Linked DNA regions of Homo sapiens: region 2 is linked to region 1. Evidence: promoter capture Hi-C in 16 types of primary human blood cells and fetal thymus (Javierre and others, 2016). All regions are on one chromosome and are shown on one strand. The core of a region is centred on a gene start or on the middle of the fragment in contact, and the rest is flanking DNA. Distances in the headings are between cores, read along the strand shown.

Evidence for each region. Contacts are between HindIII fragments. The CHiCAGO score rates a contact against its expected background, and 5 or more counts as called.
Region 2: a contact is called between a fragment that was not itself captured here and the fragment with the promoter of ETV3 in region 1, in 4 of 17 cell types (naive CD8 T cells, total CD4 T cells, activated CD4 T cells and 1 more). The highest score is 6.2, in naive CD8 T cells.

The regions. Positions count from the first base shown.
Region 1 is chr1:157,136,961-157,139,660 of GRCh38, reverse strand. ETV3 (ETS variant transcription factor 3) reads left to right here and starts at 1,266. Exons shown (of 5, transcript NM_001145312.3): 1 at 1,266-1,345. RefSeq lists an enhancer at 202-807 and silencers at 739-1,108, 1,159-1,494, 1,339-1,528. The HindIII fragment of the contact is 2,762 bases long and covers 632-2,700 here.
Region 2 is chr1:157,078,642-157,081,341 of GRCh38, reverse strand. No RefSeq gene overlaps it. Among named protein-coding and RNA genes, the nearest start is that of ETV3L, 20 kb to the left of the region's middle. The HindIII fragment of the contact is 1,181 bases long and covers 826-2,006 here.

The DNA.
Region 1 (2,700 bases), core at 17-2,516:
CAGGTAAGGTAATTTTAGGCCAGAGGGAGCCAATTTACTAATTAATTTATCAAGAGCTACACAGTGACTAGTAGCACATTCAAAACTGGAAGCAATTTTTGTAACAACTAATATCTCCAAGTCCCATGTGGCAGAGACGGTGCAAAGGTCTTACTAGAGCAGAGGTACAAAGTTTTGATCCATTTGATCAAAATTGATCTTCAATTCTCCTTCAATCCCATCTCTCTTCTTCACCTCCCCCACGCTCGTATTTATTCTAAATTCTTTAACCTTTACTGATCCTCACTACTCCCTTTCTTCTGCCTCTGGAGTGAAACTATGCCTGGACACCACTCAGATTTACAGGGGTGGGACTGCAGATAAAGCTGAACTGCTTGAGATTCTTTATCCTTAATGAGCCTCTAAAGGAAGAAAAAATCATGCTTTGGACAGACAAATTGCCCGAGCAGGAACAAAAGGTAAAACCAAAAGGGGACACGCGTTTTAATGACTTAGGGAGAGGACTTGCAAGCTGCTTAGACTGGGACGAATTAAGACTAAATGCAGTGGGGTGGGAACTAGCGGGGAAGCGGTCATGCCCCCCAGTCTTCCCAGGGAGGAAATGCCAAAGCGACGTGCTTCAGAGAAAGCTTTGCGGTTTCTTTCATACGTATATGAAAGGGCCCTTTCTTAAAGGGTAGGGAAATTGCGTCTGAAGTCTGCGGGTCCCGTCTTCCCATTGTGAGGGATCCCCACTCTGGGAGGTCGCAGGGCCCATTTCTGGAGAAAGACGGGCCGCCTCTCTGTTGTGTGGGAGAGACTGTTTCCCGGCGCCTGGGCCTTCCTGTGGGGTCTGCGAGGTCCCCTCCCCCGGGAGGTGGGACCCCGGGGCAGCGCCTCGCCCCGCAAAGTCCGTTCTGCCTCACGGCGCAGGACTGGCGGGGGAAGCGTATAGCAGCTCAGCACCCCCTCGCGCCGCGTCACCCCTCGGCGTCTGGAGGACCCTGGCCCAGCAGCGGACCGGGCCGGCCGCCCGCCACGAGCGTGCGTAACGTGCCCCCGCAGCGTGACGCACGGGCCGTGCCGGGGCGGATGCGCGGGATGCGGGCCGGGAGGAGCGCGCAGGGGGAGGAGTGCGGGCGGAAGTCGGCGTCTGCTGAAAGGAGAAAGGAAAGGGAGACGCTGCTGGGTGCGGCGAGGTGAGGCTGGGAACCGGCGGGAGGGCGCCTCCTCCTCCCCCGCCCTCTCTGCTGAGGATGGAAGTGACGAAAGCAGCCGAGGAGGTCACTTCCTGCTGGGGTGGATGAGGAGGAGCCGGAGACGCCGCGGAGGAGACCGGACCGAAGACGGACCGTGCCGGGAAGAGGTGAGTCCCGGCCTCGCCTCGGCCGCCGGGGTGTCTGGGTTGGATCCGGGACCCTGGCGGGGACGGCGTCCCTGGAATCGGGGCCGGCCGCCAGGCCGCGTACCCACCCAGCTGGGCCTCACCCAGTGCGGGGGGCGGGGGAGGGTGGGATCCCGTGTCTGTCTGAGGGGCGACAGGGACCCAGGGCAGCGTTCATGCGGTGGCCCCGCGCAGCCCTGAGGCCACGGTTAAGGGAAGCCCGGCCCGGGAGGTGAATGGCAAGGAGGTTCTGGGGGCTGTGGAAGCCAGGACCCGGAGCTGCTGCGGGAAACCCGCAGCGCCAGACTGTGCATGCCTCACTCTTCGGGGAGTGGTCGCGATCAGAGGAAGGGCAGGGGTCCTGTGGTTTGCAGAGTTGAGACGAGTGGCCCTACTTGGATGGAAGTGTCCTTGCAGTGAATATGCGAAAGGCGTGCAGAGGCGCCCCAGGGCTCCTGGGAAAGGGACTTTTATGGGGAAAATTGGAGAGCTGGAGTGTCAAGAGAGGGTTTCCTTGTCAGGTTATCGTTGCAACGGGATTTGGACCCCAGGGTCGTGATGGTTGGAGGGAGTTCTGTGGCAGGGTAAAAGGCCTCGCGATCTGACAGCGCATCCTAGGAGTTAAGAGTCCAGGGCAGCTTCCTGGAGCAGTGGGGAAATTCGTGTTTTTCCTCCCTCATTGTCACTAAGGTGGAAGAGGAAGCTCCTGCCTCAGCCCCGGTGCCTCGTTATTATGTATCTCGTGTGTGTGTGAGAGTGTGTGTGTGTGTGTGTGTGTGTGTGTGTGTTTTTCCTTGTCTGCTCCTTCCTTTGGGGTGTTTATCTTGTCCTCGGCCGCTAGTAGTTTTGTAGACTGACACTTGCTGGTCTCCTTAATGTGTTTGGTGAGAAAAAATATTCAAAAGATCTAGAGAAATCCTAGGTTAGGTGAAATTTCCAAGATAAGGAATTTGTCCCTACGCGGGGGCCACTTAGGCATTCTCTCCAGATGCCTGCTAATGTGGATGCTGAGGGCCTGTCATCCACCCTGGGGAACAGCGAGGGTAGATCTGCCCTCCCTCCATGTCCCTCTGGCAGTTTCACCCCTCCCTCCTTTTTGCTAAGTGATTAACACAAAGCTCCTTGCTGGGAGGAACAGGAAATTTATTGAGGAACTGTAAATCTGGATGGAATGAATTCAAATCGCAGCAAGACTCCTTCCACTCACTGGCCAGAAGGGCTTCAGAAATGCCTGCTTTTCACCCCTTCCTGTTAAATGGAGAAAATGTATAATTTTTCTCAAAAAATTTTTGAGAGTTTGTGTGTGTTTTTTGAATAGAGTAAATGTACATATGGTG
Region 2 (2,700 bases), core at 167-2,666, 58 kb after region 1:
TTTTTTTTTAGACGGAGTCTTGCTCTGTCGCCCAGGCTGGAGTGCAGTGGCGCGATCTCGGCTCACTGCAAGCTCCGCCTCCCGGGTTCACACCATCCTCCTGCCTCAGCTTCCTGAGTAGCTGGGACTACAGGCACCCGCCAACACGCCCAGCTAATTTTTTTGTTTTTGTACTTTTTTTTAGTACAGACGGGGTTTCACCATGTTAGCCAGGATGGTCTCGATCTCCTGACCTCATGATCCGCCCACCTCTGCCTCCCAAAGTGCTGGGATTACAGCGTGAGCCACCACACCCGGCCTAAATATTTCCCGGCCCAGAAGCTCATCTTGACACCACAGGCAGGGTCAACTGCCTTTCCTCTGTGCCTAGCTTTATCATAGCACTGACTGCATCGTGTGCAAATTACCCTGGAATGTAAGCTGCCCCAGGGCAGGGACGAGGCCCTATCAAGCTCTAGATAGGGCCTAGATAGGGTCTGGCATATGGCAACACGCAACAAGGGCTGCTGAACTAAAATCCAGGCTCCATGCTGTACTGGAGAGAAACTCTGACGGTGGCTGGGCTGTAGAACTTGCTTTGATGACCGTCTGTGATCTTAGACATGTCATTTCATCACCTCGAGCCCCAGCTGCCCCAACTATGAAACAGAGATGATACAGATATACTGGTACAGGTGCAAAATCACAAGGAAATTTGATGCAGCATGATTTCAAAAGAAAAATATCGGAAGCGCCTAAATGTCCACCTTTGGTGTGCTGATTAAACAAATAATGGTACATCCATACAACGGAACACTATGCACTGTCAAAAAGAAAGCAGAAGCTTATTATGTACTGATGTGGAATTACCTCTCAAGTTTGTCTTAAAAGAAAAAAGTGGGAGCAGAAGAGTATATGTGGGATTTTACTATTTGTTTAAGAAGGGGGAAAATACATATATAGATTTGTGTTGACTTGATTAGGTACTAAAATGCTTGAAAAGGACCGGGCACGGTGGCTCACGGCTGTAATATCAGCACTTTGGGAGGCCAAGGTGGGTGGATCACTTGAGGTCAGAAGTTCGAGACCAGCCCGGCCAACATAGTGAAACCCCATCTCTACTAAAAATAAAAAAATTAAAAAATTAGCCAGGTGTGGTGGTGCACGCCTGTACTCTCAGCTACTTGGGAAGCTGAGGCAGGAGAATCACTTGAACCCAGGAGGCAGAGGCTGCAGTGAACTGAGATCATGCCACTGTACTCCAGCCTAGGTGACAGAGCAAGACTCCACCTCAAAAATACATACATACATAAATAAATACATAAATAAATAAAATGTTTGAAAAGATAAACAAGAACAATAGAGGTTACCTATTGGGGAGAAGAAAATGGATGATAGAGGACAGAAGAGAAGTAGATTTTTCACTGCATATATTTTATACTTACGATTTTAAAACTACAATACCATATTACTTACATAAAATTTAAAAATTTTAAAGTAAATATTTCCTGCCCACCATTATTACCTCACAAGATCAAGTAGGAAGATCAAGTAAACATTGTAGGCAGGGCATGGGGGCTCACGCCTGTAATCTCAGCACTTTAGGAGGCCAAGATGGGCAGATCACTTGAGGTCAGGAGTTCAAGACCAACCTGGCCAACATGTTGAAACCCCATCTCTACTAAAAATACAAAAATTAGCCAGGCATGGTGGCGTGTACCTGTAATCCCAGCTATTCGAGAGGCTGAGGTGGGAGAAATGCTTCAACCCGGGAGGCAGAGGTTGCAGTGAGCCGAGATCACGCCATTGCACTCCAGCCTGGGCAACAAAGCAACACTGTCTGAAAAAAAAAAAAAAAAGTAAATATTGTAAAAGCATGTACTGTTGTTGGAAGGTGTAAGCAAGAATGACATTTTGTGGTGAAGCTACTGTGTTATACCTGTACTAATAATTATAATGACAAAGATACCTTCCCTTCTCCATCCGCATCTTTCTCCAACACACACCCTCCAGGGGAGCATCAAGCTTCACTATCATTTTACAGAATAAAGGAGACTGAAAGAAGGGAAGTGACAGCTATGTTGACACATGATCTCACACCTGCTTCTAACACAGAGAGTCCCACACATGAACCTTCCCCTAAAGGGCCTTATAATAGCACCCTCTTCAACAAGATCCTGCCTACTTCCTATCCTCCCTTTCCATGCCCCATGCCTACCTTCTCAGGGACCCCCACACAACCAGGGGCTCTGCCACAGATTCTCAAACATCTCCCTTCAATTCCACACATCATTTTCTCATTAGTCTAGTATGCACACTGGGTCTGCTGACCTTTCCTCATCCACCTTGGCATCCTCACAGAAACCTCAAGGCTGCAAAATCCAAATAGCAGCCCAATGGCAGGCTCCACACAGAGATAGCGGGTGCTGACTCTGAGAACTCGAAACAAACCCTGTCATCAGGATGATGGCCTTCTTACTTCTCATCTCTCTTCCTCTTTGTCAAATGTTTCAAAGAAACCAGAACTGGAGGGGACGAATGCTAAGGTTTGCTTCTGGAGAGCAGCCAGGTAATGTGTGCTAACACCCCAGGGATATCTGTAGAAAGGGTCTTCTATATTAAGGAATTCTGCATTCAGTCCTACTCAGTTCAAGGCATGGCTGAAAAGACCCTAATGAAATGATTAAACATATGGACTTTAATGTCACGTATTTATTTATT